Linked DNA regions of Homo sapiens: all the other regions are linked to region 2. Evidence: promoter capture Hi-C in 16 types of primary human blood cells and fetal thymus (Javierre and others, 2016). All regions are on one chromosome and are shown on one strand. Each heading gives the region's core, a stretch centred on a gene start or on the middle of the fragment in contact. The rest is flanking DNA. Distances are from core to core; before and after follow the strand shown.

What was found. The method cuts DNA at HindIII sites, captures the fragments that hold promoters and counts their contacts. A CHiCAGO score of 5 or more calls a contact.
Region 1: a fragment that was not itself captured here is called in contact with the fragment with the promoter of CCDC68 in region 2 in 7 of 17 cell types (megakaryocytes, erythroblasts, total CD4 T cells and 4 more); the score reaches 11.7 in megakaryocytes.
Region 3: a contact is called between a fragment that was not itself captured here and the fragment with the promoter of CCDC68 in region 2, in 4 of 17 cell types (erythroblasts, activated CD4 T cells, total CD4 T cells and 1 more). The highest score is 6.7, in erythroblasts.
Region 4: a fragment that was not itself captured here is called in contact with the fragment with the promoter of CCDC68 in region 2 in 2 of 17 cell types (megakaryocytes and erythroblasts); the score reaches 8.9 in megakaryocytes.

What each region holds. Positions count from the first base shown.
Region 1 is chr18:54,674,499-54,677,530 of GRCh38, forward strand. No RefSeq gene overlaps it. Among named protein-coding and RNA genes, the nearest start is that of DYNAP, 85 kb to the left of the region's middle. The HindIII fragment of the contact is 2,359 bases long and covers 158-2,516 here.
Region 2 is chr18:54,957,814-54,960,974 of GRCh38, forward strand. CCDC68 (coiled-coil domain containing 68) reads right to left here and starts at 1,648. Exons shown (of 12, transcript NM_025214.3): 1 at 1,523-1,648. The HindIII fragment of the contact is 7,607 bases long and covers 1-3,161 here.
Region 3 is chr18:54,552,516-54,555,482 of GRCh38, forward strand. No RefSeq gene overlaps it. Among named protein-coding and RNA genes, the nearest start is that of DYNAP, 37 kb to the right of the region's middle. The HindIII fragment of the contact is 5,208 bases long and covers 1-2,967 here.
Region 4 is chr18:54,691,821-54,694,931 of GRCh38, forward strand. No RefSeq gene overlaps it. Among named protein-coding and RNA genes, the nearest start is that of DYNAP, 100 kb to the left of the region's middle. The HindIII fragment of the contact is 791 bases long and covers 987-1,777 here.

The sequences.
Region 1 (3,032 bases), core at 87-2,586, 280 kb before region 2:
GACATGTTGCCTGACTTTGTCTCACCTGTAAAATGGGGATAAAGAGAGAATGTAGCCCTCAGAGTAGCTGTGGGAATTAATGAGAATTAAGCATCTAGCACAGAATAATTGCCCAATAAATATTAACTTTTATTATCTTCTCTCTAATTAACCTATAAGCTTTTTTTTTAAGAGCAAAACACATGTTTTATTCAACAGTGTACTAGTCTAGTAGCCCATGGCATAGTGTCTTACACAAAGTAAGCACTCAAAAGTAATTTTGAATGGATAAGAGAATGGCGAGGCCTCGAGATTATGAAACATGAAAAGGAGACAGGAAGAGAAGCTCATGAAGGAGCCTGTATTAGTCCATTCTCTCATTGCTGAAAGGAACTACCTGAGTCTGGGTAATTTATGAATCACTTGAACCCGGGAGGCAGAGGTTGCAGTGAACCAAGATTGTGCCATTGCAATCCAGCCTGGGTGAAAGAGTGAAACTCTGTCTCAAAAAAAAAAAGAAAAAAAAGAAAAGAAAAATAACTTGTCCAAGGTCACATTGTTATTAACAAGCAGAATTGAGCTTTGAGTGAAGTACTTGTTCTATGACACTCTCCATCCAACTAAACTTTGCCTTCCATATTTGTTGGCTTATTTTGTCCTGGGAAGGACTGTGTTTCTAGAGCACAGACTTTTCTCACCTTGTCTGAGTCCTTAACATCAGCCTAAGGGATGCTGTGTCACACAAGGCCTAACATGGTCAGTCAGATTACTCAAGGTCTAATTTGGACGGCTGCATGCTTAATCTATTCAATCCTGTGCTTAATAGGCCATTAAAAGGGCTGACAACACAGTCCCCAGAATGCCTTGGAAGATTCATTAGTCACACACAGGGGCTGCTTTTGTGCTTCACACAAACAAGGCCATCTGAGAAAGCAAAAGAGGATAACATTTTAAATCCTCTATTCCTACACTTCATTTTTTTGTTTGCTTTTACCTTTTGCTGATTTTCCCTTCGGACATAGGGAACTTTTTTCACATTCTTTAGATCCTAGGCTCTGCCCCAAATTTATCTCTGCCAGAATTCACCTAGGTATACATTCAAGGAAAGAACTAAAGTGAAATATGATGAGCAGTTTCTAAGTACTTTAACTGATATGGTGTATAACAAGTATTTTGAGAGAGATCTAAATTTAAAAAAATACACCTAGCATATTATGTTATGCTACTTCATTAAAAATTAGAGACAAAATTGAATTCCTATTTATACACGCATACTGTATCTCTCATACCAAAACTAAGACTTATAAAGATAAATATTAGTAAATGTTAATCCATGAAAGTCTTTCCATTTTCACATGGAAAAGACACAATAAACCAAAGTCAACAACAAACCGGGAAAAAAATATTTTCAACACATAGAAAAAAATTTTAAATATTGCTTACATATAATGAGTACTTACAAATTAATAAGATTTTTATAGGCACACACTAAGAAAGAGTAACAAAGGACATTGATGTGCTTGTCACAGAAGAAGTCTATGTAATGAATAAAAACAGAGGGTAAGATACTTGACCTCATAGTTAAATATATAGAAATTGAAATAAAAGTGATATATTTTTATTACTAGGTTTAGACAAATTTTCTGAAAATTAATGACTTTTTAAGAAGACATAACTATTTGGTATTTGTGACCCCACTAGAAAAGGAACATGCCTGTAAGAACACTTCCTGAAATATACACTAAAAAGTAAAGTATCAGCAGACTCTGCTACTAGCTTTGCTCATTGGATGTGGAGACATGAGCTCTCTTTCCCGCTATGTTTCTCCACCTTCCAGCTATTCCTAGAGAGTTGGCCATGAGCCTCAGTGGACACATGACCTAGGTCCTCAGGGGTTCCCAAAGGAAATTTGAGTTTTGAGGCATTTGAAAGAGGAAGAAATATCTCTTCCTCTGAATTTTTTTCCAAAGGAGATAAGTAGATATTTTAACAAAGGCATTTCAGTCAATGAAAGGTGGTGATTATGAGAGAGGTTCCAATGACAGTTCTGCCACTTATTATCTGAGTTACTCTGGGAAAGGGCCTTATTTCCTCTAAGTGTCAAATGTCCAAATGTTTTTTATACATTCTGAAAAAGTAGAGCAATCAAGAGTAATAAACCAGGTAATAAAACATACTATCAAGAACTAATAATTAAAACAGTGTGGTACTGGCAGACAGAGACCCATGCGAAAGCATATACAATCTAGAAAGAGATTCCCTCCCCTCAATATAAGAGTTCAGTAATAAAGATGGGATCTTATACCAATAAGCAAAATGTGAACTATACTTAATAAACAGCATCTCTATTTAACAGCAATCTGGGGAGGGGGGAAGCTGCATCCATACCTTATACCTTACACCAGGATAGGAGAGTTTAATTTTCTGAGTTGCCCAAAAGAAAAGATCCATAGTTACAGACACTAGGGGTTTTCTTTCTGATCATCTAATGGTAAAATCCACAGTCAACAGCCTCACCCTCTAAGCAATGTACAGAAAGCTTTTTTTTTTTTTTTTTGAGACAAAGTCTTGCTCTGTCTCCCAGGCTGGAGTGCAGTGGTCCATCTTGGCTGACTGAAACCTGCAACCTGCACCTCCCAGGTTCAAGTGATTCTCCTGCCTCACCCTCCCAAGTAACTGGGACTACTGGCATGCACCACATGCCCAACTAATTTTTTGTATTTTTAGTAGAGACAGAGTTTCACTATGTTGGCCATGCTGGTCTCAAACTCCTGACCTCAAGTGATCCACCCACCTTGGTATCCCAAAGTGCTGGGATTACAGGCATGAGCCACCGTACCTGGCCTCATACATTCTTTTAATCAAAAAATATAGGCCTGGTGTGGTGGCTCATGTCTGTAATCCCAGCACTCTGGGAGGCAGAGGCAGGCAGATCATGAGGTCAGGAGTTCGAGACCAGCCTGGCCGACATGGTGAAACCTCGACTATACTAAAAATACAAAAATTAGCCAGGCATGGTGGCACGTACCTGTAACCCCAGCTACTCGGTGGGC
Region 2 (3,161 bases), core at 398-2,897:
TGAGAAACTACTATTTTAAAAGACTTTTACATTCCCATCAAAATCTTCAGTTATTTCCCCTTTCAGTCATTATTCCAAGCAAATAAACACCTCATTTTTCAGGTTTGTCTAAATCTAGCTTACATTTTTTAGCTTTGGCCAAAATTTGGATTACAACTCACCTTCAATGTTGAGCATACTGTAAACAAATAAGCTAACAAATAACATGCCTATCAGTAATTCACAAAATAGCAACAGTATTAATTTCAAAAGTCTCTTTCTAGTTAGGACAAGGGATCAATTTATTTTGTAAATAACAAGAGGAAAGAACCTTCTTATGACGTCGGCCTTATGACGTTGGCCTGGGTCCCAAGAAGTGTAGTTGTTTTCATTCTTTCTGCAAACATTTGAGGAACCACACGGGGATACTCCCTGCCTTGGGCAGAAATTCCTCTGTGTCAGGGGCCTTCCCTCTCAAATTGGGAGTGGGGTGGGGAAGAGAGTGGGCAGCGGGGGAAAAGCATAACAACAGCACCAATTGTGTCTGCCAGGGTACCTGACACTCCTGCCCAGCTCACATATCAGGAAAACCAGACTTCAGTAGCTCTGAATATTTAATGGCATTAGGTAAAATCAAAAGAACAGATTATCTCCTCCCTATCACAAACACAGAATAATTCCTTTTTGTATTCTGACACTTCATCCGAACTATATACACCAAGAAAGTAAAAGAGGTTTTGATTCCTAAAATAAAACAATCAGAATATAATGGGGAGCAGGTACACCTTCAGTTATGTTCAGGGCTTGTTGCTTGTTCTGATCCTTATATTCAATTTTGTCTTCACTTCCAAAAAGGCTGAAAATTCACAGCTATGTTATCATCCAATCTAAAAACTACACTTGCACGGTCCCGTACTAACCTTCAGTAAGATAAGAGTGTTCCTTTGTCTAGCCGCCTAGCACTCTGTAACTTCCACATCTAAAATATCATGATGCTACTCAACATTAAGGAAAAGGTCAAGCAATGGGCTGCTCTTTTTACTACACCTGCGGCTGCAGAAGCCCGCACAAATGAATGAAGACAGCCACCTTCATTCATCTCTGCTCTTTAAAAAATGCGAGCGCAGTGACCTGTCAAAGCCACCACGCTGGAGTTCCTAGGTCAGGGCGTTTACCGCAGGACTTTTCTCCATAGCCTCTGAAATTAGCAGGCAGAAATCGCGGGGACCCCTGACAAACGGATTGTATAACAACAACCTAAATAAATAATCAGGTGTGCGCCGGACTAAGTAGGGGTTCCTCTCTGCGGAAAAGCAGCTCTTCCCAATGGGGAAGAAACTTCTCGCCCAGGAAATTCGAGCCCAGAACCGAGGTTTCCAGGGAGGATTACCTCTTCAACAAGGACCCTTTTACAGGAAATGTCCTTGATGCCAGGAACTCCACTGGGGAAGCCGCTGGAAAGGCACCTGGACACCCACACACATGGAGGGGATGCGGGGGCGCGCCGCAGGGACCGGGCCCGAAGGTGGCCAGACTCGCCTACCTTGTGGGGCGCCCAGCCGACGCGGGGTCCCGGTGCTGCTCCTCCCCTGGGCGATCGGACCTTGGGGCCAGGGTCGGCTGCCAGGGCCCTGCGAGTGCAGCCGCCACCGCCCGCAGGCTTGGCTCCGCCCCGCGGGGCGCGCCCAGGGCAGAGTCCGGCGCCGGTGAGGCCCCGGGGAGGAGTCGCGGCAGGACGCGTACGCCCAGCGCTGGAGAGCCAGGCTCTGCCCCTCACGCCCCTCGCTAGGGTGCTGTACAGGCGGGTGGGGGGAGGGGATCGGCCGCTGCTTTTCAAGAAGGTTCTATTTGCACCCTAAGTTTATAAACTTTTGTTTTTGTTTTTTAAATAATTTTTGATTTTATTGTTTTTAGTATAAATTTATGGAGTACAAGTGCAATTTTGTTGTTTTTTTAAAAAACTTTCTTTTGGAACTTAAAAAAAGTTGCAAAGATAGTAGAGAGAGTCGTCTATATACCCCTCAGTCGGTGTCTCCTAATGCCTACAGCTTCCATAACTGTGGCACATTTGTCAAAACTAAGAAATTCACATTGGGCCAGGTGCGGTGGCTCACGCCTTGGTAATCTCAGCATTTTGAGAGGCCAAGGCAGGCGGGAGGATCGCTTGAGCTCAGGAGTTCGAGACCAGCCTGGGCAACATAGCGAGACCTCATTTCTACTAAAAATATTTTTTAAAAGACATTAACATTGATCTGCCACTATTAACACTACTCCAGACTTGATGTAGCTGTCACTAGCTTTTTGGCTAACGCCTTTCCCTTTCAGGATCCCAGCCAGGATACCACACTGCATTTAGCATCCTGTGCCCTTTGTCTCCTCTAATCCATGACAGTTTCTCTGTCTTTTCTTGACTTTGACAGCTGTAAAGAATTCTAGTAAAGTATTGTGATGAAGTATTCTGGTAAGGTATAGTTTTGTGGGGGTACCTCGACACCCACTCATGTGGGTATTGTCTACTGTTTTTTTCTCATGATGAGACTGGGGGGAGGAAAGACTCAGAGATGAAGTGCCTTCCCCACTGCATCCTCTCAGGGACGATGGCACGATGGCCAGGTGACTTATCACTGGTGACTTGACCTTGATCCCATAGTTAAGGTTGTGTCTGCCAGGTTTCTCTACTGCAAAGCTGTTTTTCTCTTTCCATACACTCTACTCTGAATGGCATGAATGGCATGACTCAATTCAGCTGACACTCAAGATGAGGGCAAGATTAAACTCCATCCCAGAGCAGGGAGTATCTATATGTTATTATTTAGAATGATTCTGTAAGGAAGATTTGTTCCATCTCTCTTGTTTATTCAATCATTTATGTCAGTATTTGTTATGTCAGTATGGACCCATGTATATTTATTTTATACTTTGGGCTAGAATTCAATACTACATTATTAATTTTGTTGCTCAAATGGTTCCAGCTTTGACCACTGGGAACTCTTTCAGGTTGGCTCCTGTGTCTCTCTGAAAGTTCATAAACTTTTAGGATTGTGGGGAAAAAAAAAAGGTGTATTTCCTCCGCCCCCCCTCAACATCTAACAGATTGAGAAAACTGCAACCCAAATCCTTCAATATCCAAGGGCTTTTCAGAATCTTCCTGGGAATCCTATGATTACTGATTCCCACCACAG
Region 3 (2,967 bases), core at 426-2,925, 410 kb before region 2:
CTTAAGACATTTCTAATATTACTTTACCAATACTTTTAAAACCAGCTTATTTATTAAATATTTTACTTAAGTCACATGAACTTGTAAAGCATGTGGTCTTATTATTTAGTTTTATGAGTATTCTTTAACTTTAAGACAATTTGGTACTTTGTGGCCAAATCGCAAAACAAAATACATGTACATGTGTACATGTATGTACACATTAAACACACACATACATGCTCATACAAACTAAGATCCTATAGCTTTTACTTTAGAGCTCTAGGCATGGGATACTAATACAAACTCACTGGTTTACAAAAACAATAACAAAAATTAAAAGTTGCATTCAAATAGTGGGTTTTATCTCAGTAGAACAGTAACAGCGGATTTAAAGCAGGCAGAAAAGAAAATAAAGAAATAGACAACTTAGGAACTCTTTAGTTGCAGGTCAACCCCTGGGCTCTGAATTTTTCCTTGATGTAATTTGTCCATCAGTTTAAAATGTGCACAAAATGACCATAATATGCAACCAGCTGGAGTACTACAGAACCTGGCATGCCCTCAACCTTTTCCATTTTACACAAATACTTGCAAGTAGAAGCTCCATAAAACCAATGAGGTGCCCAAAAGGGGGTCCTTCTCCTTGTCTTTCCTCATTCTGAGATGGTATGTTTCCCACATTTTTTTCTTACAAGGAGAAACTGAGCTGTAGCCTAGGGTTTAGTGTAGTGGAGAGAAGTGTGCTGATTGAGTAGAACTCCACAGTGTGTCACTATTGTGTCATTTCTTCCCTCTTTCTCTCTCCGAAGGGCTAGCACCTTTAAGAGGTTCTAAGTATAGAGTGACCAGCTCTTATATGTGCTTCCTGGACAAGCCTTTTTAATTTTGGTGGAGTTTCCCTGTAGGGCCACTGCACTTTGCAGGGAGGTCAGCTCCCTGGACAATCCCACTCGGGCCCACTTGGTCACCCAGGGGCACCTTTTGGCTGGGAGGAGCAAAAGCCCCTTTCTCTTTAGAGCTGAGGAACTCAGTTTCTCATGTATCTACAAGAATGACAGTTCAGTTCCTCACACAAATGTACAGACATACCAATCGAGATTAATTTTGAGAGACAAGGCAATGGAGAAGACCCTTTAGAATGCACCACCAAACTCGACTTAGGATTTTCAACAACAATTTCTTAGGAGGGAAAAAACCCAGCTAAGACCACTTTCTATAAACTGTCCTCAGCCACCCCTAATGTTGTAGTTCTTGTCCTCCTTTACACACACCAAGGTCAAATCTTCTCACAATACGAGGTAGCCTCTGATACCCCCACAAAGCCAAAGAGGTCAGTTAATGCAATACAAGAAAGCAGGGCTGTAGACCTAAGAAGAATCTGCCCATGACTCTTGAAACTCCACAAAGAAAACTGAACATGCCCCAAAGGGGTGAGCGGCACCTTTATTCTGAGTTCTCCTTTTTTTTTTTGATATGGAGTCTCACTCATTTGCCCAGGCTAGAGTGCAGTGGTGCTATCTCGGCTCACTGCAAGCTGTGCCTCCTGGGTTCGCGCTGTTCTCCTGCCTCAGCTTCCCGTTTAGCTGGGAATACAGGTACCCGCCACCATGCCTGGCTAATTTTTTGTATTTTTAGTAGAGATGGGGTTTCACTGTGTTAGCCAGGACGGTCTCAATCTCCTGACCTTGTGATCCACCTGCCTCGGCCTCCCAAAGTGTTGGGATTACAGGCGTGAGCCACCACGCCCAGCCTATTCTGAGTTCTTTAAGGAACCTGAGTCATTAGAAGCCTTATCTAGATTTTTTTTTTCACTTGATACTGAAGATGGCCAAGAGTGAAGGAGGAATAGGGCAGAAGAAAAGTAAATGAAAGAACAATTTTTTTTCAAGAAAGGAAGTGAACAGAGAAACCAACTGGATGTTTTTATTTTTCAGTTGCAAGGAATTTTAGCCAATTCAAAGGCCTTGTTCTCCATAATTTGGAATTCCTAATCAGATTTGACCAAGTTGGGTAGAGCCAGTCAAATCCAAAGGAAGACCAGAACAACAGCAAGCAAAACAAAAAAACAAACAATGATTACTTAGTGCTCTAATGTTAAGGAGAAATTAAGAGCAGTTGGTTGTCAATTTTAACTTTTAGTTATTTAGGAGAATTTTCAAGACAAAATCCCAATTCAGCTACTTACCCAGGAATGGGGCCCAGGTTCAAGACTGCTATCTACCATCCTAGCAGCAGGGGGGAAAAAAACCCTCAAATTCACCTTCCCTATTGGAAGTGAGCTGAAACTCCAGAAAGCAGTTGCCTCCTCTCTATTGCCATGGAAGCAGGAACAAGCGCCTTCCTTGTTGGAAGTGAGTAAAACTCCAGAAAAGGAGCTGTACAGCTAAATAAACTTTAAATCTCAACCAGATTTTGGGAGATTGGGGATTCTATGGAGAAGGGAGCTCCCAGGCTCCAGAAAATTGTCCTGTTGTTTTGAGCAATAAAGATAGCTCAAGCTGGTGCCAGGCACTGACAGGAAATTTGTCAAAGGTCAGGAGCACCTCTGCTCAGAATCCCTTTGAGGTTGCCAATTTGTAAACCAAAAGTATCTGAGACAGGTCTCAATCAGTTTAGAAAGTTTATTTTGCCAAGATTAAGGATGAGCTTGTGACACAGCCTCAGGAGGTCGTGATGACATGTGCCCAAGGTGATGAGGGTAGAGCTTGGTTTTATACATTTTAGAGAGACATGAGACATCCATAAACATATGTAAGATGTATATTGGTTTGGTCCAGAAGGGCTGGACAACTCAAAGCAGGGGCTTCCAGATCACAGGTAGATTGAAGGATTTTCTGATTGGCAATTTGTTGAAAGAATTATTATGAATAACAAGGTCTGGGGCCTGTAAATCCCAGCTACTCAAGAGGCTGAGGCAGAAGAATCCTTGCACCCAGGAGCAGAGGTGGCAGTGAGCCAAGATCGCACCACTGCACTCCGGCCTGG
Region 4 (3,111 bases), core at 132-2,631, 270 kb before region 2:
GAAAATACATAGGGTAGATTGGAGGTTTAGGAGACTAAAGGAAAGAATAGTTAGGAGCTATTTCAATAGCAAATAAGTGGAAAAGTGTTTTTTTTTTAAAAAAGGAAGATAAATACAAGAAATATTATACATAGGAAATCAAGCAACTCAATATAATTTCTTTCCAAACCCTTAGGAGAATAATGTAACCCACTTTCTTCATTAAGACACTAAACATATTTAATCTTTTAACACTTTACAATCATAATTTAATACATTGAGTAGTAAAAAGAATTATTAAAAAAACTGACATAGAATGAATCAATTTTCCTAGTTTATTTCAGTGATTTTTAAGTACTGTTTATAGTCTTCACATTTTATTTAGTCAAAATAAAAACAGAACCAGATGATTATGTTCCCTATAGCTGAAGGCTTGGCAAATTGTCATACCGACAGGGTTGGTTTTCATATGGCTTAGATGTTTTTGAAGGATGGATAGGGTAAAATTTTACAATCTCTTTGAGCTCTATAAATCTGTGAAACTCTAAACAAAAATATCACGAAGTATTAGGAAGAAAAGAACGAAGAGAACAAGAAAAAAAACAACCTTGATTTCATTCAGTAAAGTTCATCTTTAGCATATTCCTTTTGCTAATGCAAGAAAATGAGGAAAAGGAAATTTATTTTTTAAAGAGAGAAAATAAAGAGCATTTAAAGTAAGATAGAGAATGAGCTTTCCAGTTTGTGCTGGCTAAATCCAATAACCATTTTCAATTTAACACTGAAGGCAGATTGTATCTTTTAAGTCCTGTTTTTGTATTCTGTACAGTGATGGGCATGTCTCTTTCTTTAGTTGTCAGGATAATGAATGCTAATCTGAAGATACTCTAAGCTATTATTTTTCCAATGCATTCACCTATGCCTTCTGTGTATGCCTATTCACTGTAGTTATCAGTCTTATAGTCAAGTGATGATGGATTTCATTTATAAATGTTGAAGTGGAATTAAGCTTTATAATGTTAGCTGGGAGTGATAAATCTCCTCCTGGTAATATCATGTCGTAAGAAAGCACTGACTTTCCTGATGAAATTTTATAGATGGTTAATGTTCTCATTTTCTGGTGTTTTTACCATTTTACTACATCTGACATTTTACTAATCTTTTATATTTGTATTGCTTTTCAAAGATTAGATAAGACAAAACATCATAGAACATCTTTGTCACCTTGGAGTCGACAGGTTTCTTAATCAGGGCACCAAAAGCATTAAGCATGAAAGAAAAAAAGATAAATGAATTACATTAAAATAAAAAAACTTCTCCAAACAATATCTTTAAAAAGTTAGGAAAAGCAACCCAAAAAATGAAAGCAGATTTTTATATATATATATATATGTTGATATGTTTATATATTGCTTATAATATATAGGTATATATAATATATAATATATATGTGTATGTATATATATATTTGAAAAAATATAAATAAAAACAAAAAACCCTGATAGAAACATGGACAAAAGACTTGAACAGATACTCCATAAAAGAGGATATTTAAATGTCCTTTAAATCTGTAAAAAGGTGCTCAACTTTATTAGTTATTTTTTTTAAATGCAAGCTAAACCACAGGATGCCATCAAGTAACCACCAAAACGGGCAAAGGAAAAAGGCAGATAATACCGAGTGTCAGCAAGAATGTAGAGTAAACTGAACTCCATCCACCACAAGTAGAAGTGGAAATTGACAAAAACCACTTTTGAAACATGCTTGGCAACATCTTTCTCAAGAAGAATACATGAAAAGCTTGTAGCCAGTAGGTCCACTTCTGGGTGTTTCCCTAGCAGAAACGTATACCTATGTTCACTCACCAAAAGACGTAGAAGAGTGATCAGTGCAGCTCTACCCAAATGACCATCAACAATAGAGTGGACAATACATTCTGGTATGCACATCTAGTAGAAAGCAATGAGACTGAAAAATCTGAAACTGCAATAATAGTGACTCAAAATCATAATATTGAGCAAAGGAGCCAGGTACAAAAAAATTACAGTATATGATTCCTTTTATATAAAATAACAACATAGGCAAAAATAATATTAGTTGTAGGTGTCAGGATAATGATTACCTCCCGTAGTGGGGAGGGGTGGAGAGTGTTTCTCTTTGGAAGGAAACAGGAGAAACCTTCTGGAGTGTCACTAGGGTGCCACAAATAAAGTATGAGAGTGAGTATCCCCATTCTCTTGTTACTTAAAAACATAATTAATCTCACTCTCTTGTTACTTAAAAATGTAATTAATCTTTTGAATTTTGGACAGTGTGATACACAAAACATGATTTTAGTTCATTTCAGTTAGAATGGCCCAGATTTATAATGAGGTTGAGCATCTTTTAATTTATCTTATTACCTCCTCTTTTGAAAATTTGCTGTTCATGTAATTTGACCATTTTTCTATTAGGTGACCTGTTTTTACTTTCTTTAATTTGATACTGTTCTGTATTAATTATGGAGGTCAATCTTTGCTCTGATTTATAGTTTTCATTTAAATTTGTATGTATTTAAAATTTTTATTTATCAATCTTACAGTTTCTGTGTTTAGTGTATTGCTTAGAAAAACTCTTTAGATTATAAAGATAATCCATTATAGTTTCTTTGTATTCATTTCTAGGTTTTTATTTACTTAATCTATTTGGATTTATTTTTGTGCCTGGTATGACATAGATATCTGATATCTTTTCCCTAAATGGATAGCCAATTGTACCCACACTATTCCTTAGTCTGTCATTTTTCTACTGATTTTAAATTCTACCTTTGTCATAAATAATATTTCCATATTATGTTTTCATATATATCTTTCTTTTCATGCTGAGTTGTTCCACTGTGAAATTTGTAGATTATGCATCAATGCCACACTTTTACAAGTTATTCTAGTTTTATGGTGTGGTTTGATATTTAATAGAGAATTAGCAAGGGAAAGCTAATTATTCTTTTCCAAATCAGCTTTTAATTCTCATAAAAATACTTTTGGTAATGTCATATTCATTGGCCTTATGTTTATAGATGAATTTAGTGAAACTTATCCCTATAATGTTAAATTCTTTCAATACAGGAAGTTAGTCTCTCTCTATTTCTCTCTC